6 separate regions of the Homo sapiens genome follow, and all the other regions are linked to region 2. The links are contacts of gene promoters, found by promoter capture Hi-C in human tissues and cell types (Jung and others, 2019). All regions are on one chromosome and are shown on one strand. Each heading gives the region's core, a stretch centred on a gene start or on the middle of the fragment in contact. The rest is flanking DNA. Distances are from core to core; before and after follow the strand shown.

Evidence for each region. The method cuts DNA at HindIII sites, captures the fragments that hold promoters and counts their contacts. A contact is called where the count stands out against the background at its distance.
Region 1: a contact is called between a fragment that was not itself captured here and the fragment with the promoter of HMGN2 in region 2, in 3 of the 25 tissues and cell types used here (adrenal gland, hippocampus and spleen).
Region 3: a fragment that was not itself captured here is called in contact with the fragment with the promoter of HMGN2 in region 2 in 2 of the 25 tissues and cell types used here (IMR-90 fibroblasts and lymphoblastoid cells).
Region 4: a contact is called between a fragment that was not itself captured here and the fragment with the promoter of HMGN2 in region 2, in 1 of the 25 tissues and cell types used here (neural progenitor cells).
Region 5: a contact is called between a fragment that was not itself captured here and the fragment with the promoter of HMGN2 in region 2, in 1 of the 25 tissues and cell types used here (hippocampus).
Region 6: a contact is called between a fragment that was not itself captured here and the fragment with the promoter of HMGN2 in region 2, in 1 of the 25 tissues and cell types used here (dorsolateral prefrontal cortex).

The regions. Positions count from the first base shown.
Region 1 is chr1:25,990,325-25,994,672 of GRCh38, forward strand. It overlaps PAFAH2 (platelet activating factor acetylhydrolase 2), which reads right to left. Exons shown (of 11, transcript NM_000437.4): 2 at 403-539. The coding sequence starts at 492. Among named protein-coding and RNA genes, the nearest start is that of PAFAH2, 5.6 kb to the right of the region's middle. RefSeq lists an enhancer at 3,247-3,758. The HindIII fragment of the contact is 7,134 bases long and covers 1-4,348 here.
Region 2 is chr1:26,470,400-26,474,887 of GRCh38, forward strand. It overlaps HMGN2 (high mobility group nucleosomal binding domain 2), which reads left to right and starts at 2,041. Exons shown (of 6, transcript NM_005517.4): 1 at 2,041-2,228; 2 at 3,084-3,128; 3 at 3,304-3,333; 4 at 3,686-3,736; 5 at 4,173-4,268. The coding sequence starts at 2,214. DHDDS (dehydrodolichyl diphosphate synthase subunit) reads left to right here. Exons shown (of 9, transcript NM_205861.3): 9 at 1-907. RefSeq lists enhancers at 648-1,356, 1,357-2,066 and silencers at 1,436-1,851, 1,736-2,005, 2,266-2,555, 2,596-2,765. The HindIII fragment of the contact is 14,054 bases long and covers 1-4,488 here.
Region 3 is chr1:26,127,277-26,131,817 of GRCh38, forward strand. No RefSeq gene overlaps it. Among named protein-coding and RNA genes, the nearest start is that of PDIK1L, 18 kb to the left of the region's middle. RefSeq lists a silencer at 1,382-1,676. The HindIII fragment of the contact is 7,689 bases long and covers 1-4,541 here.
Region 4 is chr1:26,856,525-26,860,513 of GRCh38, forward strand. It overlaps ZDHHC18 (zDHHC palmitoyltransferase 18), which reads left to right. Exons shown (of 8, transcript NM_032283.3): 8 at 1-1,080. Among named protein-coding and RNA genes, the nearest start is that of SFN, 4.6 kb to the right of the region's middle. The HindIII fragment of the contact is 5,523 bases long and covers 1-3,989 here.
Region 5 is chr1:26,144,659-26,148,660 of GRCh38, forward strand. No RefSeq gene overlaps it. Among named protein-coding and RNA genes, the nearest start is that of FAM110D, 12 kb to the right of the region's middle. The HindIII fragment of the contact is 8,228 bases long and covers 1-4,002 here.
Region 6 is chr1:26,747,253-26,751,756 of GRCh38, forward strand. All of the region lies in intron 4 of ARID1A (AT-rich interaction domain 1A), which reads left to right. Among named protein-coding and RNA genes, the nearest start is that of PIGV, 38 kb to the right of the region's middle. The HindIII fragment of the contact is 4,216 bases long and covers 721-4,504 here.

The DNA of each region.
Region 1 (4,348 bases), core at 607-3,106, 480 kb before region 2:
AGCTGTCCCCCTACCCAGGTCAGGGAGTCCAAGGCCAAAGGCACACGCCCATGGCTCTTTCTCTCACACACTCAGATTATGATACGATTAAAACCCTTCCAAGATCAGGCATCTGCCCTCAAGAAAGGTGAGAGGATCTGCGAGCTGCCTCTAAAGCTAGAGTCCCCCCTTTCCTCCTAGGTGGAAAATGAACGCATTATCTCTGTCTATTGGGATGTTTCTAATGTTTGGAAAGAGGAAGAAAAAGCTCAGGAAGACAGACCTGGGGGCTTGATAACCAAATCCAGACCCGCTCTAATTCATTTTCCCCACCGTGGGAATACAGGATCAGACTTGTGATCAGTAAGTCACGGTGCCGGCAGAAGCAGTGCAAACAGAAGAAAGGGAGCTGGGGACACTTACCTGGAGATTCTGACCCTCCATCACATCCCCACAGCCTACGAGGTGGGGTCCTGTGACAGGTGGAAAGCCCACAGACTGGTTGACCCCCATTTCATCACCGGGTGAATCAAATGACTTGCCGGAGCTGAACTTGCTGGCTGGATGGGGGAACACAGAACAGCAGCCGCTTGCTGGTTTCCTCTCGGCTTCCTGTTGCTGAAATGTGTTATCTGTTACCCTGTCCACCCCTCCTTAGCACCTCATCCTCCCTGCCGTCGCTCATTAAATCTTGCACCTACTACTTTGCTACATTGCCTTTGCCAAGGTTGGGGGTTGTTTTTTATTTTGCTAGGGTGAGGAGATGGCTGGAAGACGAAAGAGAGCCATCCATACTCCTTACAGCCCATTAACGTATGTTTATCCAGCAGCTACTGCTGCAGAGACTGTCACACAGACCTTGCTCTCCTGAGGCTAATAGTAACCACTAAGATCCATTATTTACGGTTAGCACTGTACTGACCTCTTTATAGACACTATACACATTGCATCATTTCATTGTCTCAACCACTCTCTGAGGTAGGTACTTTTTTTTTTGAGACGGAGTCTCGCTCTGTTGCTAGGCTGGAGTGCAGTGGCATGATCTTGCTCGCTGCAACCTCCGACTCCCTGGTTCAAGCGATTCTCCTGCCTCAGCCTCCTGAGTAGCTGGGATTACAGGCACGTGCCACCATGCCCAGCTAATTTTTTGTTTAATTTTTAGTAGAGACGGGGTTTCGCCATGTTGGCCAGGATGGTCTTGATCTCCTGACCTCGTGATCTACCCACTTTGGCCTCCCAAAGTGCTGGGATTACAGGCGTGAGCCACCGCGCCTGGCCTGAGGTAGGTACTATTAAGACCTTGTTTTGGCCAGGCACGGTGGCTCACGCCTGTAATCCAAGCACTTTGGGAGGTCGAGGCGGGCAGATCACCTGAGGTCAGGAGTTCAAGACCAGCCTGGCCAACATGGCGAAACCCCGTCTCTACTAAAAATACAAAAATTAGCCGGGTGCAGTGGCAGGCACCTATAGTCCCAGCTACTCAGGAAGCTGAGGCAAGAGAATCGCTTGAACCTGGGAGGCAGAGGTTGCAGTGAGCCGAGATTGCACCACTGCACTCCAGCCTGGGTGACAGAGTGAGACCCTGTCTCAAAAAACAAACAAACAAACAAAAGACCCTGTTTTACAGATGAGGAAACTAAGGCATAAAGAGGTTGAATAACCTTCCCAAGTTACCCAGTGGCAAACCCATCTCTGCCTAATCCGGAAGCTAAGTTCTTAACCATTACTGATCCTGCTCAGGGGGAGATTCAGTTATACAGATGCAAAGTTACTGAACTAAGCTTTTTCTTAAAACCGTTTGATTTTTTTGAGAGACAGGGTCTTGCTATGTTGTCCAGGCTGGTCTCAAACTCCTGGGCTCAAACAATACACCTGCCTAGGCCTCCCAAGTAGCTGGGATTACAGGTAAGAGCCACCACACCCAGCTTTTAAACTACTGAATATGGGGTAGCACTTATGCTGGGCCTTTAAAGATGAGGAAGTTGAGAGGCAGGGGAGGAGGAAGAAAGCACTTATAGAAAAAATCCTAAGAGGAAAAAAAGCAGAGGTAGGGAAAAGTATGATGTGGGCAGTAGATCAAACAGATGCTTTCAGCATGACAGGCATGCACACTCCTGACTAGATAACATTCCTACGGCTCAGCTGCTTCCTAAACTGGTGCCAGTGCTCCCCTAACCCTCTTCAGTTTCATCATCTCCAACACCACCATCATCATCATACTTACTCTGTGCCAGGAACTATGTTTAGTGCTTTTCACATATTATTTTATTTAATTCTTTCAACAGTCCTCTGAGATACGTATTATTATCTCATTTTACAGATGAGGAAACAGATGCTTGACAAAGGCAATTTACCCAATAACATATGGCGAGCAGAGCCAGAATTCGATCATGGACAATGTGGTTGTAACATGAGAATGTCAAACTTCCCAGTGTCCCTTGCCTTGTGATTTGGGTGGGGCTGACCCCTCCTTAACCTCCGGAGTTGAGCCTTAATTAACCGGAGCCAATCAGTCCTTCTTATTCTCCGGTCAGTATTTGGATGAAAAGTGCGCGTATGGCATTAGGTTGGTCCAATAGGCGTAAAACCCGGGACTTTGGTATGACGGTTGAGGGGAGAAAAGTTATTTCCTGTGTTGGACTAGTGTGATGTGCAGATGTCACCTGTCAAGTGGCCTTGAACCACAGCAGCCACTTTTGCCACCTTGAGGATGAAGATACCCATGGTGGATGGGAAAACCAGAAGAATCACAGAGAAATAGAGGCCCATTTGTGAAGACATTAAGAATCCACAGATTAGACCATACCTGAAACCTGACCCACTCCTAGACTTTCTAGTTACATGAGTCAGTAAGTTCCCTTTCTTGGTTAAACCAACTGAAGTTAGATTTCTTTTGGTTGTAACCAAAAGCATCTAAATGGATACACACTGAGTCTGGGGTCCACATGTTAATGATTAAATTATTCTGCTTCCTTTAAGATGCTCTGGGAGGGATTCAGGAGTTCCAGTCAAAGCATGTCTGGGTAAGAAGAGACCTAAGGGAGCATTTCCGTCAATCCCCTCCACAATCGTTTTCCCCTTCTCCGCGTACATACACGTGCTTTACCAGGGAAGACACCAAGGTCCGGAGAGATTAAGTGAGCTGCTCAGAGTCACAAGCAGAACGATGATAACAACACACAGTCTCCTGGTTGTCAGCTGCCACTTGTCTGGTCTCAACAATCCTAACATCATTCTATTTAACTTTGAAAGATAAGAAATTATTTTCTTTCTACTACAGATAGCATCTTCATTTTGTTTCTTTTTAGCAAATTTAAAAACAAACCCAATTCTTTTGAAAAAGAAGCTAAGCTCCTGATGTCAGTGGGTTGTTCAGCCAGAGTGAAGGGGGATGAGCTCTGCTTAGCCTGAGACCCTGACCTTTCCCCATCGCTTGTTGTTGAGGTCTGCAAATGGAAGACCTACTGCTGGGGCCACAAGACACCTGTCACTCACATGACAATGAAGCAGCTGCAAGTTCAACTGTCATAAAAGAAAAGCAGATAAAAGACCACAGGAGTTCTGAGAAGAAACAGTGCTCCTTTAGCTTGGAAGTAGAGAGCAGGGGAAGATGGGAAAGGCTCTTTCAAGCAGGAGAGAGCAAGCAAAGGCACGGTAAGAAGGAAGCTTGTGTGAGAAACAACGCAAGGTGAGAAGAGAAAGTTGTGACCAGATTTGGGGAGGAGCAGTCCCTCAAGTGCTAAGCTAAAAAGTTGGAATCTACTCTGGAAATGAGGTCATGTCCATGAGAGATAGTCTGAAAGAACCACATTGGAGGCCCAGCTCATTTGGTGCCTAGCTTTTTTTTTTTTTTTTTGAGACAGGGTCTTGCTCTGTCTCCCAGGCTGGAGTGCAGTGGCTCACTGTGGCCTCACCCTCCCAGCTCAAGTGATGCTCCCACCTCAGCCTCCTGGGTGGCTGGGACTATAGGCACTTGCCATCACACCCGGCTAATTTTTGTATTTATTTGTAGAGATGGAGTTTCATCATGTTGCCCAGGCTGGTCTCAACCTCTTGGGCTCAAGCGATAATCCTGCCTTAGCCTCCCAAGGTGCTTGGGATTACTGGAGTGAGCCACCGTGCCAGCCCTGCCTAGCTTTCTTATCTTATGCAAGTTATCTGATCTCTCTAAGCTTGATTCCCCATCTGTACAATGGGAACACTATCCATCCTCACAGGGTTGCTGTGGAAATAAAATGAAATAATGCATTCAAAGCATCTGGTGTGGTACCTGACTCTTAGGAAGCATCCAAGAAATGTGCTGATTGAGTGAAAAGTAGAAACACTAGGGTTTGGCCACTGAGTGAATCTGGGGAGTCAAGAGCCAATA
Region 2 (4,488 bases), core at 791-3,290:
CCCTCCCAAAGTGCTGGGATTACAGGCATGAGCCACCATGCCAGACTTCCCATTTTACTTTCTGCAAGCTGTTTCCCTAGCAGCTCCCTCTAGGGGAGAGGTGAAATCTTGCAAGTTGTAGCAAGAGCACACAGGAAACCCCTAACTTTCCTATACCCCACCCGCCTCTTCCCCTTTCTGTCCCGGGATACCTGGCGGCAAGAGACTTCTTGGCTATTGTCCATGCTCCCAGAATCAAGCATAAATGCCAGACACGGCGATTGAGAAGCCAATCAGTGAACCCTTTGGCAAAGCCCCCATCCACACCTGGCACTCCCCTCTACCAATCCCTGGCACAGGGTTCCTGGAGAGCAGGTGCTGTACATTTTACAGCTTTACAATGGGGCTGTTGACAGCCATAATTAGGGAGGCATGAATTATGCGGCTATAATGCAGAGCCCTACAATTAAGGCGGGAATGAGGGGCTGGAGGCAGCAAACGGAATCTGCCCTATGAGCGTGGCTGTTGAGTCCTGTCTCCTGGGTCTGACTTTCCGTAATATGATTGGGGTACAGTAGAGGTGATTAATGGGGCTGGCATCTCTCTTTGGCCTGAGGTTCTGTATTCTGGGAAAGGTACACAGGGTGGAGTAGGGAGAAGCTGCCCCAGGAGGCGATGTAGTGGTGGAAAGAAGAGGCAGAGAGGTCGTCGTCGTCGCCCAGCAGCAAGGGCTGCAAAATAGTAGAACTCGTGGTTGCTTTGGACAGGTGTGATTTGTGCAAGCCAGGTTCAACCCTTGCCTCAAGAAATCAGATGGGACCAATTTAGTGTCCTTCCACCTGTGAGCCAAGCCCCCATTTGAGGACATCTATCGTATTCTTGTGTGCTGGGTCTCAAATAGAATTTTTAAAGATTCTTAGATGTAAAACTTGTTTGCTAACTGCAACGGAAGAACACCTTCTTTTGCTGCTGCAATTGCCTACCCTCCCTCAGGTGCACTTGGCTAGCTCCAAGACCCTGGCTTTGGACTAGGGGGCACCGGAAGAGCCCTTTTGCCATCACACCACCTGTTCCTCTACTTGTTTCCTAATCCCCGGGCGCTTTCCTCCACCCTCCTTTCCTCGCGCAAGTGAAAGGCAGCCAGCTTGACAGTGTGGAAGGAGGGATTTCGCCAGCTGCGGCTGCAGTGCCCAGGCTTGGTGGCCGCGTCGGGTTGGGCAGCTGGGCAAAATGTCTCCGAGAGGGGTAGAGTGTAGGGGGAAGTGAGTGCTGGTAGACCTCGACGGCCGCTCTCCACCATACTGTGGCGGGGTCTGGAGGTTTGGGAATACAGGGACCTTAAGGGAGCCACCCGAGAGGAGTTGGGGGTGGGGGCTTCGATAGCATTTGGGGAGGCGGCTGCGCAACGGGTGCTGAAAGGACAGCTCCTACCTGACCCACGGCACCCAAAAGGCACCTCTGCATGGAAAGTCTCCCCCTGAAACCCCTAGCCCACCTCGAGTGGGACCGTCTTTCAGGTGAGGTGCACGAAAGGCTTCTCCGAAGTGGCAGCTCGGAAGGATGCACGTCCGGCTGCGCCAAGCTGGTTTCCCCGCCTTTTTCCCACTTTGGCGTCAGCCTGGGCTCTGGGAACTGCAGCCTGTGCCTCCAGCCGCGCGCTTCCTCCTGCTTCCAGAGGAGCAGGGCAGTGCAGCCAGGCCTCGCAAACCCCTCTTCTGGGGCCCCCAGCGGGAGCAGGAAGGAAAGCCGCTGAGATGCGCCGTGAGTGTCGCACGGCTTGGAGAAGTGGGTTGCTGGGTTGCATAAGGTGGAAGGAACTTGCTAGTTTGCAAAAGACAGCTCTTGGCGGGAGCCGGAACCCGGAGCCCGCCGACTCGCGCACCCCTCCTCATTTACTGCCTTCGACGCGCGCCACCCCGACTGCGCCCCCACCCCCTCGGCGCGCCGCCGTCTCCGCGCACTACCCCCCCCACACACCCCCCTCCTCACTCCCTCCAGAGGAGGTGAGTTTAAACCCCGCCCACGTGACCCCAGCTGGGCCAATGAACGGCGGCGGGAGGTGAAATCCGGTTCTAACCGGTCCGGGGCTCCCAGCGCTATAAAAACTTTATAAACCCCCCGGAGCCCGAGCAGTGTGAAGAAGAGGCGAGAACGACCCCCGGACCGACCAAAGCCCGCGCGCCGCTGCATCCCGCGTCCAGCACCTACGTCCCGCTGCCGTCGCCGCCGCCACCATGCCCAAGAGAAAGGTACGTGGCGCGAGGGCCCCAGGCGCCGGGCCACCACTGCCGCCACCGCCGCCGCCGCCTCCCTGGTGCAGGGAGCGAGAATCGGCGCCGAGCAGGAGCCAGCGCAGCCTCCCCGCGCGGGGGCTGGAGACGGTGTCGGGCAGCTCGGGGCTAACCCTGAGCGGCTCGGCTGCCCGCGGGCGCCAGAGGCCATATTGGAGGAGCGGCGGCCGCGGCGGGAGGAGCCATGTTGGCGGCTGTTTATCCCGCTCTCCTCGGGCTCGCCGCCCCCGCCCCGTGCCCCCTCCCCCATCGCGAGGGCCCCTTCCCTCCCCTCCCTGCGGGCGGGCAATTCAAACCCGAAAGGGCGGGAAGGCGGCGCTCGGGGTTGGCGGGCGGGGGAAAGCGCTGCCGCCAAAAAACCGCCGCCGTGAGGGGCGGGGCTTGTGCGGTATGGCCCCGCCCCCTCGCCCACGTTCCCCGCGCACGAGACGCGCGCTGTCGCCGCCCACGAGTTCCCCGGGCTGCGCGCGCCTCCCTCTCCCGCCCTCGACGGCTGCCATAGCAACGGCGCTGGGCTCCGCCTCCGGAGGGGGTTTGTTTGCGCCATCTGCAGCTGTTGCTCCTGCCTGTCGCGGTGGTGCGGGCTCCGCTGCCCTCCCCGGCTGCGCTCCGGTCCAGCCCTCGCTTCTCGGGGTCGGCGAGCCGGAGCTCCTGCGCGCGCTTCGTTCTTATACGAACGTCGGGCTCACTCATTTATGTCCTAGAAAAGTTGTGTGGACGACTGCTTTAATTTTCATTTTTAGCACTCTAAAGTTTGGGAAGTAATTAAGAACCACCTCAAAATCTGCAGTTTTTTGTTCTTGTTTCTTATAGGCTGAAGGGGATGCTAAGGGAGATAAAGCAAAGGTGAAGGACGAAGTAAGTCATTCTCTCTTCAAGGGTCAAAGCCTTGGACTAGCAGAGGCCACTGGACTCGGTGATTAACCGTAACCTGTGTCCTGAATTTACACTCCTATAATCTAGAGCAAATTGATACCAAACTTTCAAAGCGACTTACCTGTCCTATTTCTAACTTTCTCGTTGTCTTTAATAGCCACAGAGAAGATCCGCGAGGTTGTCTGCTGTAAGTGTATGCTTTTGAATTTTCGTGCTTGTCCCTGAAACTAAAAAACATCAAAAAACAATTCCCTTTGCTTCCATGAATTATGGTTAGTGCCTGGTTTTGAATCATTGCCTCTACTTGGGACTCTTGCCCCTTTGGGTTTTGCTGGTTCTGAAATTCTGATGCCTGTAGCCAAAGTGGGACATTTGAGTGGGCTTCTGGAAATCCAACATTCTAGAAGAAAGCCAACCACAAAAACTTTTGAGGAGGAGGAGAAACTTCTCTACCCTTGGTACTTTTGGTTGGTTGTGGGTGGTTTTCTTCAGTCCATTGTACTGATGTTCACTTTTTCCTCTCTTCCTGCCAAAAAAAGAAACCTGCTCCTCCAAAGCCAGAGCCCAAGCCTAAAAAGGCCCCTGCAAAGGTAAGTGCTAACATTGGAACTGATCATTTTCACAGAATGAGGACTGTCCTTAGTGCCTTAACTTAATTAGCATAATGGTGCCTCCATTAATGGAGGTTATAAACTGTGTGGATAGCTTACCTCGTCCGTGTCATTCATAACGTTGGTTTCCTGATCAAGAATTCTGTTGTTAGTTTATAGGAAAATCTGCATTTAAATATTAAATACCCCAGGGTTTAAACTAATTTATTCTTCTGTTACTTAGGAAATTCTAAGTACTAAAGATTATAGCAAATTACAGATAATTTAGCCTAGTTTTGATCAGTTGTTCTTGTCAAATGGGTGAGGGTTTGTGTTTTATCTTGAGTAAACAATCCTACCTTGTGCAGAACTTTGCAGACCATACCTTGGTAATACGAAATGGGGAGAAACAGTTCTATTTTTTCCCCTTTTTCAGAAGGGAGAGAAGGTACCCAAAGGGAAAAAGGGAAAAGCTGATGCTGGCAAGGAGGGGAATAACCCTGCAGAAAATGGAGATGCCAAAACAGACCAGGTATAACTGCTGTTTCACCCTTTGTTAGATTTGTTCATTCAGTTAGTTGCTGATATCAAAAATTTAATTGCCCTTTTCTTGTATCACTCCAAATGTACCATTTGGTCCAGTGTGCTTGTGGCTTTCCTGTTAACTTAAATCCTGGATTCTTGAAATCTCTACTGTCAGCTGAAGGGCATTGTGTTTTATACTACATGAAGTTTTCAAGCTAGGAGTAACC
Region 3 (4,541 bases), core at 1,647-4,146, 340 kb before region 2:
GGACACAGACTTTGAAAATAGACTCTTTACCTTTCTGTTACTAGCTGTGTGACTTTCATGAGTTCCCTAGCCCCTCAAATTCAGTTTCCCACATGTTTAAGCAGAGACAGTACCTGACTCAGAGCGCTGTGAAGATAAAAGGAGCCAATGCATGTAGAAATGCGTGGCATGCTCAGGAAATGTCAGTGCTTCCCGTTCACCCGGGAGGACTCCTAGGAAATGACTCTGAGCTGCCTTTACTGCTAATTTGTACTGCTGATAGGGAGCACGTTGATTGGTTTGTTTAATTTAGCTTACATTTTTACCACAATTATTAGAGAAATACATTCGGTTATGGTGATGTCCTGCGTGTCTCTTTGCCCTGCAGCCCTATTTAAGAACAAGGATAGTTCAATAAAAATCCCCTCAGCCCAGTTTTCTTTCCTCCTTCTACTTGCTGATCACATGATTGATAGTAATTCAGGATGTTTACTGTCTCTTTCACATAGACTACCATGCGTGGAAATTAGGAAAGTAGTAATAAGTACCAAATACTAGAATGACATGCCATTTCTCCTGGCTTTAGGTAGAAGGCAGGGAGCGTTTACTGACGTGATTTGAGAAGCAACAGTAGAAGCACAGCTGTGAGGGCGGCGTGGAGCAGGGCAGCAATGGCTAGAACTTGGAAGTTGGAATTACAGTAGACTCAGTGTTTCTCAACTCTGGCTACTTGTTACAATTTTAACCTGAGGAGGGCAAAAGCAAGCAAAAATCCTGATGACTTCTGCTTCTGGCCATTATGGAGTAACAGGGTTCTATTCCTGCCATAAACAACTCAAATGTCAGACACTGGGAAACTAGCAGTGCACGACAGCAATCCCTGGGAGAAAAGGATCAAATGGGGTGAGCCCTGTGGTTGCCCCAACTTGGAGGGAATCTTTAGGCTGCTGTACAGGGAATAAGTACCTAAACAAGGTTCAACAGTCTCCCTGAGTTGAGGAGACAGAATTTAGGGTTCAGGGAGCACAAGCCAGCTAGGATTCATGGGGCAGAGTATCAGAGAGAGAGAGAGAGACAGATGGTAACAAAGAATTCCAGACCTTGTTGTTTATTTTTTTTCTTTTCTTTTTTGTCCTGTTTTTTATTTGTCGGTGAGAGTTCCAGACCTTTGCAGAAAGTTTTTTTCAAGACATCAGCTGAGGCAGGGCCAGGTAACTCACATCTGTAATCCCAGTACTTTAAGAGGCCAAGCCAGAATGATCACTTGAGCCCAAGAGTTGGAGACCAGCCTAGGCAACATGGTGAAACCCTGTCTCTACAAAAAATAAAATAAAATTATCCAGGTGTGATGGTGTTTGCCTATAGTCCCAGCTACTTGGAGGCTGAGTTGGGAGAATCACCTGAACCCAGGAAAGTCAAGGCTGCAGTGAGCTGGAATCACCACGCTGCACTCCACCCTGGGCGGCAGAGCAAGACCTGCCTTAAAGAAAACATACACACTCACACACACACTCTCTCTCTCTCTCTCTCTCACACACACACACACACTCACACACTCACATTCACACACACAGTATCAGCTAAGTACTAATCAGTCATGCTTATGAAGAAACTATCAGACCTGAATGCAGGAAAGATCCCCTGAAAGGATTAGGCAGAACAATCCTGGAGCTCACACAGGACCAAGAATAATTGATATTTCCACCAGCCAGAACAGAAAGACCTTCTTCCAATATACAGAGCATCACAGAAGAGTATTGTCTCAGTAGTGAGGCCAAGGCTAACAGCTATTCTGGACCTGTCTATCCAAGCTTAAAAGTAAGTCTTGAAAGGTACACAGACAAAATTATAGCAAATTTGATTTAAAGATCTATATTGGCTTTTCTTTGTGATTCTAGAAAAAGGCAACACCTTATTCTATAAAATACAGTGAGTATTCCGATAAGCCAAGCAGAAAAGTATGGTTTTATAGACAGAAAAGGCCTGAGAAAAGCAGAAACAGAGAACAGAAAATTGTCTGGTTGTTTCAAAGTTACTTTCCTTATAGAGTTAAAACAGACACAGGCGTAGTGGGTTGCTGCGCCCTCCCAGGCGGTCCCAACAACTAGTGGACCAGAGCCCCCAGGGGACACAGCCTAAGTCCCTGCCCATCAGATCATCTGGAACTTCTGCCCAGAGAGGATCTGGAACTTCTGCCCAGAGAGGAGAGAGCGACTGGAAATTCTCTCAGTCAAGGTCCAAACCTAAAAGAATCACTGGCACGCCCAGCAGGACTAAGACCAATTTTTAATGAAATGTTTTCTGTGTTTGGGGTGCATAACTATATTTCTTTATAACAAAATTACTTAAATGTTTTGATTTTTTATTCCTCATATGCATGGCCTGTGACAGACCAGGGGACTTGTAAGCTCACAGTCCATGAGGTCAGAAGCTGACATCCTAAATGTCTATTTATAATGAATTTAAACAGACCAAAAACTCTGCTATGAAACTCGGAAAGACAAGCAATTTAGCAAAAATGAACCAGTCTCTAAATAAATAAAAAGATTAAAATTTAAAAATTAAAAACAACAACAACAACAAAAACAGAGGGAACTTCATTTTCATGCCAGCTCAGGTAAACTGGGCCCCTTTTGATTGGTTGCTGCGAATCTCCTGGGGGTATTTTTTTGGTAGCGGGGTGGGGGGTGGACTGGCCTGTTTCAGAGTTCAGTTTAATTATGTGGCACCCAGCATGAGTGACTCCATTCTGATTTGGCTCGGTCTGCTAGTGCTAGTGTACGAGGCTAGTCCAAAATAATGGTCTCCTATACATTTTATTTAACAAAATACATTTTTTTCTAAGTAACATAATGTGCTAGAACAAAGCTCAAAAATACTTGAGTCCAAAAATTCCACTTCTCAACAATATAAAATTCAAAATGTCTGCCAGCCAATTAAAAATATTAGAAATGGGCCAGGTACAGTGGCTCATGCCTGTGATCCTAGCACTTCGGAAGGCCAAGGCAAGAGGATTGCTTAAGTCCAGAAGTTCAAGACCAGCCTGGGCAACATAATGAGACCTCATCTTTACCGGGAAAAAAAAAAAAAGGAATTAGCTGGGGGTTCTGGTGTGGTGGCACATGCCTGTAGTCCCAGCTATTCAGGAGGCTGAGGCGGGAGGAGCACTTGAGCCCAGGAGTTGGAGGCTGCAGTGAGCCGAGATCGCACCACTGCACTCCAGCCTGGAGACAAAGCAAAACCCCAACTCAAAAAAAAAAAAAAAAAATTAGGACTTCTAATTTCTGGTTTGGCACAAAAGGAGCCTAAAAGTCACCACTCCATCCTAACAACAATTAAAAAGCTGAACACATGGAAAAATCAACCACTCTTCTTAGATATGTCAGAGCAGTGAGGTCACAGGGCAAACTGCTGCCCCTGTAATTGGAGAGATGCATTGGTAGATACAGAATATCACAATTTACTAGTGTGGAAAAGGTGCAGGGGTAGGAAAACCTAAACTGTAATTGATGAATTGCTTAGTATGGTCAACTCTGAGAGTTAAAAAGCCCAGGGGGACCCAATCACAGGAGGCTCCCCACACTATTACCTCCAGGAGCTCTGCCAGATCCTCACAGGTGCTCATTCTTCTGCTAACGGGAGGGGGAAAGGAACCATTTTGAAACCTGCCTGAACATTCTGTTCTTAACAAGGACAACCCTCAGGAGCAACTATTTTACCACAGCCTCATCTGTTGTGGTTTTATCAGCTGACCCTAACCTATCTGAGGGTATTCCAGCCCCCTCTAGCCATCCTGACCACCTAAGGGAACTTCACCAAGAGAAGCACTGGTGAAGTTCACAGTCCAAGGGCACAGGCTCACCTATGAAAAGCCCATGACCAAATCATAGGATTATAGAACACCCACCATCCCCAAATGTTACTACATTACTAAAGGCCTATTTATGGCAGTTCCTTTAGCCAGTACATTCCATCCACCTTTCACAAAAAAGTACAAGGGATACTAAAAAGCAAAAAATACAATTTGAAAAGTCTGAACAATCATCAGAATCTGAGTCAGTTATGGCAAGAATCCTGGAACTATCAGGCCAGGGATTTTTTTTTAAATTGTGATTAATATGCTAAGGACTTCAATGGAAAAAGTAGACAATATGCACACACAGATGGATAATGTAAGCAGAGAAATGGAAATTCTAAGGGTCAAAAAGATGCTAGAAATCAAAAACTCTGTAATAGAGATGAAGAATGCTTTTGATGGGCTCATTAGCAGACCGGACATGGCTGAGGAAAGAATTTCTGAGCTTGAACATATGACAAAACAAACTTCCAAAACTGAAAAGCAAAGAGAAAACGTCTAAAAAAATTTTTTTAAAGAACGGAATATCAAATAATTGTCGGCCAACTATAAAAGGTATAACCTACATGTAATGGGACTATGACAGGGAGAAAAAGGAGAGAAAGGAACAGAAGCAATAGTTGAGGTAATAATGACTGAGAATCTCCCCCAATTTTTTTGTTTTTTTGTTTTTTTGTTTTTGAGACAGGGTCTGGTTCTGTCACCC
Region 4 (3,989 bases), core at 2-2,501, 390 kb after region 2:
TGGAGGGTGAGGCTGGGGAGAGGATGGCGAACCTGCCCTGAGGTGCTTGGGTCTGTGCTGGTGGGGTCCTGGTATGCAGGGGCCACCGGTCACTAACACTCTTATGTCCTGGCTTTCTGTCCCCGCTGAGCTTTCTCTCACCCGCCCGTTTTCTCTCCTGCTTCATTGCCTGCTGCCTAAGCCTTGGCCCTTCTCTCGGGCAGAGGCAGGTGCTGTGGCAGCACCTCTCCCCACCACCGGGGCCCCTGCAGGCCGCCTCCCTCCTCCCAGGCCTGCTAACCCTCTCTCTTCTCCTTCTTTGCTGTCCTGCCGGGGATCTCCAGTGTGTGCGGGGGCTTAAGGACCTCCTGAGGACCGCTGCTCTCTGCCTCTCCAGGAATGGCCTGGGGGGAGCCAGGCACCCGGCACCTCCACCTGCCTAACCTGTGGCCCATCTGCCACCATCTGTGCCTACAGGGTCTGCCCCCCAGCCTGCCCGGCCTGTGTGCTCTCTAGGACCCCCATAGGGGGCAGGGGCTGGCCTCTTTGCCCCATTCCCGCTCCATGCCGGCCAGAGTGTAGAAAGCCATAACGCAGCCATCAGCACAATAATGTGACTCTACGCTGATATGCTCCCTCTCTCCTCCACTGACTTCCCCTTCCCGGATTTGTGAGGTGTCAAGACTAGGAATCTGGCCTTAGAGCCTGCCCCTCCACCCCCTCAGATCAGGCATAGCCATAGTCAAGCCCAGCAGGTTTCCTCAGGAGCTGTCTGGGGTGTTGATGGTGGATGACGCTGCTGAACAAGTTTGGTGACTGTTCTAAGCACAACTGGCTTGATACTGTTCCCACGGCCTGTCCACCTCCCACCCCCAACCCTCCACCAGAGTAGGTAGGATGTAGGGAGGGTGCGTGCCTCCTTTGCTCTAGGCACTGAGGGACCAAGCTAGCCGTGCACAGCCCCATACACTTCAGGGGACTAAAGGAAAGAGCTGAGCCAAGGAAAATCAGCTGAGCCCAGGGCTGGGGGCTGCTTGTCTGCTATCCTGTACCTTTTTTTTTTTTAACCAAAATAAAGATTCCCCTCTTCTTGCCATACCATTGGCTGTCTGGTGGCGCCTTTACTTTGGGGCCCAGGGATGGGACCTGCAGTGGGCGTGTGGAACATATGGCTCCCCCTCGCTCCCAGCTTTCTTCCAGCTGGCCAGTGCTGCTCTGGAGATTTACAAGCACAACGAAGCCAGGAGGGACACAGGAAAAGTGGCTGACATCCTTTTCACTCTGCCCCTCCAGAACTCTTGGTCTCAATTCCAGACACCACCCAGCCTTAGCTGACCTCTGGATTCTGATAGGTCCCAGTGCAGGCTGAGACAGAGGGTTTAACTCCAGTTTGGGACTGCCATACCCATGAACTGAGCCCAGCCCAGGGTAACGATCTCATGGAAACTTCTCTCTCCCCAGTTGCTGCACTACATCAAGATACACACATGTGCATACACTGTACTATGGGCTAAAAAAATAGCTACCGCTACCGTTCAGCAAGGGCTTGCCGAGTCCCGGGCCCATTTTCTCATCTTAACCTGTGAGGAGGATGATGTCAGCCTTTTTACAGATGAGGGAACTGAGACTCAAGGAAGAAACAGGAGCTGCCCAAGGTCACCCAGCTGGCAAAGCAGCAAATCCCAGATCGGAACCTGATCTCTGCCCCGAGCTCTGAGCCATCTGCACTACCCAAGGAATGAATACAGCGGTGGGAGGATGAGATCTTGGAGAAACCCTAAAATTAGAGAATGTCATAGCCAGTAGAGGGCTTAGAGTTGATCTGGGCCAGCCTCCTTGTTTTACTGATGGAGAAATTGAAGCCCAGAGGCAGGAAGGGACCTGCCCAAGGCCTTATAACAGAGCTGGGATGCAGTCCCACACTCTGACCTCATTCCATTCTCTCTCCATAAATTCTGCACTGTCTCTAGACTGGACTGGTTTAGATGTGGGATACTCTAAACAGCAGTGCCTTCAAGAGAAAAAGAATCAGAACTACGAATCACTTAAAAGTAATGTAAGCTACTCTGGGCACACTGCCTATGGGGTCGCCCTGCTCCACAAGGAGCCACAAAAATAATTAAAATAATTTAATATCCCTTCCCAAAGGTAACCAGTAAAGTAAGCTCTTGGCTAGGTAACTGGACTCTTGTTCACAACTAGCCAGTGGGAAAAGGTGCTAGAGCTTCCTCTGGCCACCTGTTTAATTTGATCATTCCAAGACAGAAACATTTCTTAGGAAGTTCTTTCTAGAATCTACCTGGTGTCCCTCCCACTGCTATCAGAGCCCTGTCCTCTGTCCTCAGTGGAGGTAGAGAGCAAATGGTTGCTGCTTTCTTCATCACAACCCTTCAAAGCCTATTATTACCAGCTAAGAAGGATTGGTTGACTATGGGGCCAGAGCCCCTGAGCCTGCTGGTAGAATGGATGCTGTACAGGAGGGTGGGGAGGTAGCAGGCAGAATGAGGAAAGCCCCTTTGAGCTGCAACCCCAGCTCCTGTCCTGCTGACTCAGACAGCTGACTGTGGAGCTCCATGCCCTGCCAGGGCCTGCTGCCTCCTGCCCGTCTGAGCTCCTGAACTTGGGAAATGGAGGCCCAGAGGCAAAGGGAGGTACCTGAGACAGGAACTGAGTCAGGATCAACAGGCCAGAGCGGGCAGGAGGTATCAGGCAGCCTGGCTCCCAGATGCACCCCTGAGCTCCAGCAGGGGAGGAGTAGGAATGAAGGGGCTTCCTTGCCCTTGCTCATGGCTATGCGGAGGGCGTGAACCACCACCAGGTCCTCTGGCTTAAGTGGCGGGAAGCAAATGGTCCCTCCCTGGACTCAGGCTCCAAAGTTCCTGGGCCTGCCTTCCAGGTTCCCAGTGTCCTGGGATCTCCAGCTTTCCCCAGGACTTGGGGAAGCCCCGGCTGGATGACTAGTACAAATGAAGGCCCCTGAGGTTCCAGGACCTGCTGAGGTCACAGGAATATCCTAGATCAAGCTTGTCCAACCCACGGCCCACAGGCTGCATGTGGCCCAGAATGGCTTTGAATGCAGCCCAACACAAATTAGTAAACTTTCTTAAAACATTATGAGATTTTTTTGCAAATTTTTTTTTTTTTTTAGCTCATCAGTTATTGGTAGTGTTGGTATATTTTATGTGTGGCCCAAGACAATTCTTCCAATGTGGCCCAGGGAAGCCAAAAGATTGGACACGCCTGTCCTAGATGGAGAGGAAGGAGGCAGTGCTGAGCACATCTGGCCATTCATCCATCTGGAGAGAGAAGGCTATGGGCAAACTGCTTCCTCTCCCCTGTAGACACCCAGCTGGGAAGGTCTGGCCTTTGGCTAAGTCCTGGCTTGGGGTCCTTCCTCATTTCACAGAACCTAACTCTATGTTAGTGCTTTGTGAGTATATGTTGATCATAATAAAGTTGACGGGATTTTTTCACATGATAATAATAGTTGTCATCTGGCCGGGCATGGTGGCTTATGCCTATAATTTCAGCACTTTGGAAGGCTGAGGCAGGTGGATCACTTGAGGTCAGCTGTTCGAGACCAGCCTGGCCAACATGGTGAAACCACATCTCTACTTAAAAAAAAAAAAAATACAAAAATTAGCTGGGTGTGGTGGTGCACCCTTGTAATCCCAGCTACTCGGGAGGCTGAGGCAGGAGAATCACTTGAACCCAGGAGGTGGAGGTTGCAGTGAGCTGAGATTGTGCCACTACACTCCAGCCTGGGTGACAAGAGCGAAACTCCGTCTCAAAAAAAAGAAAATAATAATAATAATAGTTGCCATCCATTCTACTGTGCTTTCCATTAACTCGTGTAATCCTCACAAGTCCCATTTTATAGTTACAGGAACTGAGGCTCACAGAGCTTAAATCACTTGGCCAAGGCCACAAACAGCTATAAGAATTACATTTAGGCAGTCTGATTCCAAAGATACTAGTCTATTCTGTATCTCATAGACAAACAATACATA
Region 5 (4,002 bases), core at 326-2,825, 330 kb before region 2:
ATACTTGGCAAAAAAAAATGAGGATGAAATAGCTATATTGAAGCTAAAAGCATCACTAGAGATAGTTTCTACCTAATGATAAAAGTTCCATTCATCAGAGAAAGAGATAATATTTCTAAACTGGCACACATTTAATTAACACTGCCTGTCAACACTTCACTGTCTTTATTACTGTAGAATTAAATAAGTGAACCCTTAACATCATCCTTGGCACATAGCAAGTGCTTAATAAATGTCAGTGATAGCAGCAGCAGGAACATACTCTGTGACTGGTGAAGCCATTTGACTTCTATGAGCCTTAGTTACCTCTTCTGAAAAGTGGCCATAATAATAAATTATTTTTTCAAGTTGCTTTGCAAACCAAATGAGAATAATGTATGTGAAGATGTTTCATACACTACAGAGAACAATATAAACGCAGAAATCGCTGCTCTTATCAGTTAACTGGTATTACAAGCAGCAGTGTCAAGGTAAGCAACCATCTGAGCAGTCCCCAGGTGAAACAGCAGCTCTGAGGATGTCCAGGTGTGCGCAGCAAGACCAGGCAGCGGGGCGGCCCCCTATGCTAGTGAAGCTCAGGAAGAGCCCGTGGGCGAAGTGGTATCAGGAAAGCTTCTTGGAGGGTGAAGCCCGCCCTCTGGTGGATAACCCTTGTTCAAACTCAATCAGACGAGCTTTCCAGAGGTCCTTGGGGAAACCGTTCCTCAATCTGAGTCTCACATCTCCCCAATCCCATGGTCTTGCTTTCTGCAGATCTTCTGGGGTAGGGTGGGATAATTTTGGAAACAAAATTATTGTGACCTGTGCCTCATGGTGCCAAGCTCACCTAAACTCAGAGTCCTTCCGTTAGGGGCAGTCTTTAAACGGTAAGCAATTTACCATAGGTCCCCACAGTGCACCACTAGCCAAGGCTTGGACTCCCATCTCCCAGTGACCTATCCTTTTTAGATCACTAGGAATGGCAAGCGTGGCCTCTCTAGCTCAACCGACCAGGCTCGAAGGTCTGGAGTGACTATTGTCCATCTGCGTGTCCTGCATTAAACTGGAATGGCCTGACCTTTACACCCCACCTCCTTCAATCACCAGATACAGGCTGCCCTAGGAAGGGTGGGAGCTTGGCTGAGTGGGCTCTCAGCCACTGAGGCAGACCCTGAAGGAGGTGACAGCGGCAGGCCATCTGCTAACTGCACCCCCTACTAGTGGGCAGCAGTGGACACCATTGAAAGCTGCTGTCTACAAGAACCCGCCCATACACACTGAAGGCGCAGCCCCTTCAGAATTCCTCTGGCCCTCTTCCCAAGAGGGAACTTAGTGGAGGAACGCCAGTGGGACGAACTACAGCCCCCACCACGGCAGTCCGTCCTGGGGCTGCAGGTGATGGCCCTCATCTCCCTCCTCCTCCATTGGTTCTAGACTCCCCTCACCCTCAGCTGCCACTTCTGCTGGCCTCAGTGGCTCACGTGGTGGTGGGATCCAGACCTTCATCCCCAAGAAGCCTGAGCCCCTGGTCATCACGCCCTTCTCAGGCCAGAGTTGCATGACCTGTCCATTTGCAGTTATAGTGGAACAAAGGAACACCAAGAAGCACCTGAGCAGATCACCCTGGATCCACAGGGATCCTTCTTGCCCCCACTGTATAAGAGCAGCCTTATTCCTATTTATAATCAGGGTGAAACACCTGTGCCAATGCCAAGACAGGGGTGCCAAGACCCTGCTTCTTTTTTTTTTTTTTTTTTTTAAGACGGAGTCTCCCTCTGTTGCCCAAGCTGGAGCGTAGTGGTGTGATCTCGGCTGACTGCAACCTCTGCCTCCTGGATTCTCATGCCTCAGCCCCCATGTAGCTGGGACCACAGGCGCGCGCCACCACACCCGACTAATTTTTGTATTTTTAGTAGAGACAAGGTTTCACCATGTTGGCCAGGCTAGTCTCGAACTCCTGAACTCAGGTGATCCATCCACCTCACCCTCCCAAAATGCTGGGATTACAGGCATGAGCCACTGTACCCAGCGACCCCTGTTCTTGATGGCTAGTCCTGGACACAAGCAGCTCAGAGCACCCAGGAGGTAGACACTGGTTATAATTTAATGCAGATCTGTTTTTCTTTTTCTTTCTTTTTTTTTGAGGGTAGGGGGATGGGGGTCTTACTATCTTGGCCAGGTTGGTCTTGAACTCCTGGCCTCAAGTGATCCTCCCACCTCGGCCTCCCAAAGTGCTGGGATTACAGGCATGAGCCACCATGCTCAGCCCTTCAATACATATCTTTTTGGGAAAAATGTGCCCCCTTGTAGGACCAGGACCTCTAACCCTGCAGAGCCCAGAGTTGCAGGGCTGGCAAGTACAAAGTCTCCCTCTGGGCCACTGGAGTAACAGTAAGTGGGGTCACTCTTCCTTCCACCCCTTGGTTCCTGTACTCCTTTTTTCTTCCTGTACATCTTTCTTCTTCTCCTTTTTTCTTCTCCTGTACTTCTTTTTACTCATCCAAGGAAGGGCCTGCTGCCCATCTGCAGGGAGAGTAGGCAGCTGACTGCCTATGGCCATCACCTCCCTCAGGGTCTGCCTCAGCTGCTGAGATCCGCCTTCCCCAAGGTCATGCTCTTCCCAGGGCAGACCACCTCTGGTGATTGAGGGAGATGAGAGTACCAAGTTCTGGCCTTTTGACCCAAAGTGGGACACTGATGGGCAATCCTCACTCCAAAGCATCGGCTGAGCAAAGACCTTTATCTTTTTGTTTTCTTTTTTTCTTCATTTTCTTAAAACAGAGATGGGGTCTTGCTACATTGTCCAGTCTGCTCTCAAGGTCCTGGGCTCAAGTGATCCTCCCACCTCGGCCCCCCAGAGTGCTGGGATTATAGGCATGAGCCACCGTGCCAGCCTGAACAAAGACCATGTAAACATGGCATTGGGTAAATACAAAAATTAGCTGGGTGTGGTGGTGCACACCTGTAATCCCAGCTACTTGGGAGGCTGAGGCAGGAGAATCACTTGAACCCGGGAGGTGGAGGTTGCAGTGAGCCGAGATTGCGCCACTGCACTCCAGCCTGGCTACAGAGCGAGACTCTCTTAAAAAAACAAGTCTTAAAGGAGGGGAAGGAGTCAGCAAAGCACGTAACTGAAGGAAAAGCATTCCTAGCAGAGTCCACAGGCCCCCAGGTGGAGCGTGGTTGTTGTGTTAGAGGAACAGACAAGGAAGACATGTGCATCTGGACAGGGAGGATGGCAGGCGGGGAGGGCAGGGAGCTCACAGGGCGTGGCCACGGGAAGCCTGCAGGCTGCTAAGGATTTGTCTTTATCTCGAGTGAAATGGGGAACCTTTTTCAGAGTTTTGAGCAGAGAAGTGACATGACTGATATATTTTTAAAGAATTGATCTAGAGTGGCATTGAGAATAGACTCTATGCAGGATGAGGTTAGAAAGAGAGAGACTTACTAGAGACTACCACAGCTGGGTGCGGTGGCTCACGCCTGTAATCCCAGCACTTTGGGAGGCCCAAAGCAGGTGGATCACTTGAGGTCAGAAGTTCGAGACCAGCCTGGCCAACACGATGAAACCTCACATCTACTAAAAATACAAATATTAGCTGGGTGTGGTGGTGGGTGCCTGTAGTTCCAGCTACTCAGGAGGCTGAGGCATGAGAATCACTTGAACTGGGAGGCGGAGGTCGCAGTGAGCCAAAATTGAACCACTGCACTCCAGCCCAGGTGACAGAGTGAGACTCCATCTCAACAAATAAAAATAAAATAATAGAGACGACTACAGTCCCAGGCAAGAGGGGACGGTGGCATGGACCAGGGCAGAAGGAGTGGAGCAGGAGAGAGTGCTCTAAATCTGGATGGATTTCAAAGATACAGCCTACAGATGCTGATGTATCAGATGTGGAATGAAAGAGAGAGAGACAGGTCAAAGGTTAGCCAAAAGGTTAGCCCTGGCCTGAGCAATTGGACAGGTGCTGAGTTAGGGAAGGTTTGAATGAGATGAGGAAGTCAGTGGCAGAACAGGTTTGT
Region 6 (4,504 bases), core at 1,579-4,078, 280 kb after region 2:
TTATCAGCATAGAATTGGTTGGTATTGTGACATAATCTGATTGCCTTGAGGCAGAGCTTACCTCCAAGCTGCTAGCTTCCTTCCCATTTGACCTTTCCCAAAGAAGCTAAGAATCCATGCCTTGTTGAAGGTGGGAACTAGGGGTTGAAGGCTTAATCTTGAGAGTCAGCGAACCTGTCCCTTAAGGCCAGCTTTGATGTGGGAAGAATATTGAATATTGTTTACTGAGATGGAGATGGGTGGAGGTAATTTTTCCTGACATTTTGGGGAAGGTAAGAGAAACCAAATTTAGACTGAAAGGGATCAGTGGCCAGGTGTGGTGGCTTACACCTGTAATCCCAGCAGTGTGGGAGGCTGAGGCAGTAGGATTGCTTGAGGCCAGGAGCTGGAGACCACCACCCTGGGCAACACAGCAAGATCCCCATCTCTACCAAAAAAAAAAAAAAAAATAGTTGGCCATGGTGGTGCATGCCTGTAGTCCTGGCTACTTGGGAGGCTGAGGCAGGAGGATCGCTTGAGCCCAGGAGTTTGAGGCTGCATTGAGCTATGCTTGCACGACTGCACTCCAGCCTGGGTGACAGAGCAAGACCCTATCTGAAAAACAAACAAATAATATAGGTCAATGTTCAGAGGAACCATTATCAAGAATATTTGGATTTTTATCCCTCTTATTTTCTAGAACTTGATTATAGCTCCCTTGTGTTCAGAGTTGTTCTTTTCAAAGTCCTTTGAGGTTGTATTCTGGTTTAAGATTCTATCCATTTCTCACTCTCAGATCTGTTTGTTCCACCCTCTCCCCCTAAATATTTGGATTTTATATAGACCAGTAGGCTAAGGTAGGGAAGACCACTGACAAGTATAAATTTAAGAGTTTACAAAACCAAGGAGGCCATCCAGCCCCTAGTTCTAAGCCATGTTCAGCACAGTGCCAACTTTGCCTTCCCTGGCTGTCCTTGCTTGCTTTCTGGTTGCTGTAATTCTGAGGGGCAACCAGGCTTGCTGTAGAGAGGAGAGCCAGATGATGTGGAAGCCTAAGGCAACACCCCCTCCTTATTACACTTCTCATACCCAGAACTCTGCTTGCTTTCTGTGTTCCTTTCCTCTCACTCCCCTTTCCTGCCCTCTTTACTCAAGTTCTAAGATTATAGCTGATGATCTTCATAATAGAACAAACTCTGTTTGGTTGACCTTCCTAACAGGGAATGCTTGGCTTTGAGAAAGTAGGGGGTTCCTAACTTCTTTGCCTTCTCTAGCTTTACAGTGCTCTTACTTCCTGCTGGGATTAGAACAGCCCTATTCCATAAATATGCACTGCTCTTGGCTGCTGTAACTCAGGCCCAGCTCTGACCCAGATTCTTTTTTTTTTTTTTTTTTTTGTCAGATTTGAGTCTATTAACTAGTGACCCTCAAAACACTTCATACATTTTTGGCCAAAAAGTGGTTACTGACTGGATAAGACAGAAGCCTTTGGGGGGCAGGGTGACTGGTCGGGCAGGTAACATGGTATTATACAGGCCTGATGGGGACTGTGACAAACTGAAAAGCAGGGTTTCAACCAGTTAGCGGCCTATGGGAGTTCCAGAATCATCATCATCATCTTTTTTTTTATTTTTATTTTTGGAAAACTCTCGGCCAGGCGCAGTGGCTCACGCCTGTAATCCCAGCACTTTGGGAGGCCGAGGCAGGCAGATCACGAGGTCAGGAGATGGAGACCATCCTGGCTAACACGGTGAAACCTCATCTCTACTAAAAAATACAAAAAATTAGCTGGGCATGGTGGCGGGCACCTGTAGTCCCAGCTACTCGGGAGGCTGAGGCAGGAGAATGGTGTGAACCCGGGAGGCAGAGCTTGCAGTGAGCCAAGATCGCGCCACTGCACTCCAGCCTCGGTGACAGAGCGAGACTCCGTCTCAAAAAATAATAATAATAATAATTCTCTGGGGTCTGTGGGTCTGTCCCTGCAGTGTCTTGTGGACTGCCCCGTGTAGCTTTGGCTCTCTCTTGGATTTACTCCCTTTGAGCTGGTGCCTAGAATTTCTCCGGGGGTAGGGGACAGCTGTGAGGAGCACCTTCTCATCTATCCTTTGCCAGTTCTCATTGTGTTTGGTGTTTGTTTTATTTGTTTGTTGGGGGGCGGCGGGGAGCGACAGGGGAAATGTTGAGCAGAAGCACTCGATGTGATTAAACCTCCGGCTGAGCAGATCTGTAGGAGTAGAATATCGACCCCTGGAAAATCAATGGCTGCTGCAGTGACCCAGCCGCTGTTTGCAGGGGCTACCACCACAGGAATGCAAGCAGCCCAGCAGTCTTTCTTCTCCCCACCTTTTTACCTCAGCAGTGCCCTCAGCCTCCACCCAGAGGGTCAGACCTGCCTCAAGAGATTTTGCAGAGGTGGGTTAGAACAGCACGTTCTCGTATTTTCACAATTAGATTGAAATTTCTCCAGTGACACAGAGCCCTGCCTCTGGCAGCCTCCTTTCCAGACATTCCTTTTCTGCACTGCTGCAGTTCTAGCAACAGCTCTTACCAAGTTGCCAAAACCCATTCGGGGTTGTACTTCTGAGTTTTAAACAGGAGAATCAATTCTCTTGATACCAGCACCCAAGAGCCCCTCCCTTGTGGAGGTCTAGAATTCAGGTACTGGGGTATAGGATGGGGGAATAGAGATTAAGGGAAAGAAAGAGGACTAATAGAGGTTGTGTCTAAAGAGGATGCTTTTGAGTAGATAATTCATTGAGCAACATTTATCAAGCATCTTGTCGTTTGTGTGTCTGGCATCTTTCTGGTCACTAATAGCCTGATCTTGCTCTGGTCCCACAGGCTAGTGGAGAAAAAGGGCGGATAGAACACAGTGCCATCAGTCCTGTAACACTGCTTCTAGAGGAGCCTCAGAGGAACTCTGTGCCCTGCCTATAGGGTGAGAGTAGGGAACTAGTCCTGTGACTTGGGTCAAAATAGATGGTTTAATAGAATGGCTAGCAGATCTCTGCTTGGAGCATGGAGGCTTCTGATTCCTCACTGCCTCCACAAAACTGTTTTCATCTTGGAAGTTCCCAAGGCTAAAAAACAATTTTAGCCTTTAGTTGTTGTACCTATAATGCCAATTCTACTCTGGTGGTTGGGAAACCAGCCAGCCTGATGTGTGTGAAAGGAGAGCTCAGTTGCCCTATTGTTGGAGCACCTCTGTGGCCAGAGGGTTGAAGCTTGCTTGGCTTTTAAAGCCTCTAGAAAGGAGCCTTCCCGTCTTGTAGCTTGGAGAGTGGGGTCCCTAAACAAAACCCAAACATCCTGCAGTTTGGAAGGGTGGCTGCAGTGCTGGGTGAGGAGGAAAGTGTGAGGGTTTGAAGTGGCCTAAGAGGAGGCCATCTAGAGGCCAGGAATATCTTGATTTTTTTTTTCTCTGTGAGCCACACCCTTGTGATTGATAAAAGGCTTAGAACATATTCAGTTTGAATACCCAGCAGAGACCAGGCTCCTACCTTCATGGGACTTCTACCTTCATGGGACTTCTGCTTGTTTCCCTACATTCAAAGTCACCCTCCCCACAGCCCTCTGTCCTCTTACACATTAAGTACCCTACAGAAAACCCAGGGGTGAGAAAAAGTACTGTACCCTTTAATTTAGCATAGAAAAATTAGGTTGAAGTTGAAGGTTATCAGTGAAAGGGCTGATTTGAAATAAAGGCTGAAAGTTATAGCAAGAGTAATTAGGAAAGAGGGGGGCCGGGCATGGTGGCTCACACCTGTAATCCCAGCACTTTGGGAGGCCGAGGCGGGTGGATCACTTGAGGTCAGGAGTTCGAGACCAACCTGATCAACATGGTGAAACCCCGTCTCTACTAAAAATACAAAAATTAGCCGGGCGTGGTGGCGAGGGTCTGTAATCCCAGCTACTCGGGAGGCTGAGGCAGGAGAATCACTAGAACCTGGGAGGCGGAGATTGCAGTGAGCTGAGATTGCACCACTGCACTCCAGCCTGGAGGACAGGGCAAAACTCCGTCTAAAAAAAAAAGGACAGGGGAACACATAGCATCACAGATTTGTAGAGTTTGATTATCTAGTGTAAGTCTTTCCTTCAATAAAGGAGTTAAGTGAGCCTCGTGAGGTTAGCCAGTTGAGTCAAGTAGCTAATCACGCAGCATGTCTGGTGATATAGGTTGTTGGCCTTACCTCTATTGGAGCATGGAACCCAGCCTTTGATCATGTCAAGCTTCTATTAATACCTTATGGAAAGAGTGTAAAGTAATAATGGATTTGAACCTCAGGTCTATTTAATAGCTGTCTGTCCTTGGGCAAGTCACTTCTGAACCTGCTTCTTTGTTAAAATGGGGGTAATACCTATATCAGAAGATGATTGTGAAAATTAAATGAGAGTCAACCACTCACCTTAGGGTTGAATATGTGATAGTCACATATTCATGTCAATTCTGCTTCCTTTCAAAAGGAATATATAAAGGAACTTTATTAACTTTATCTAACATCCTTTGTATTTGGAGATTTGGTCT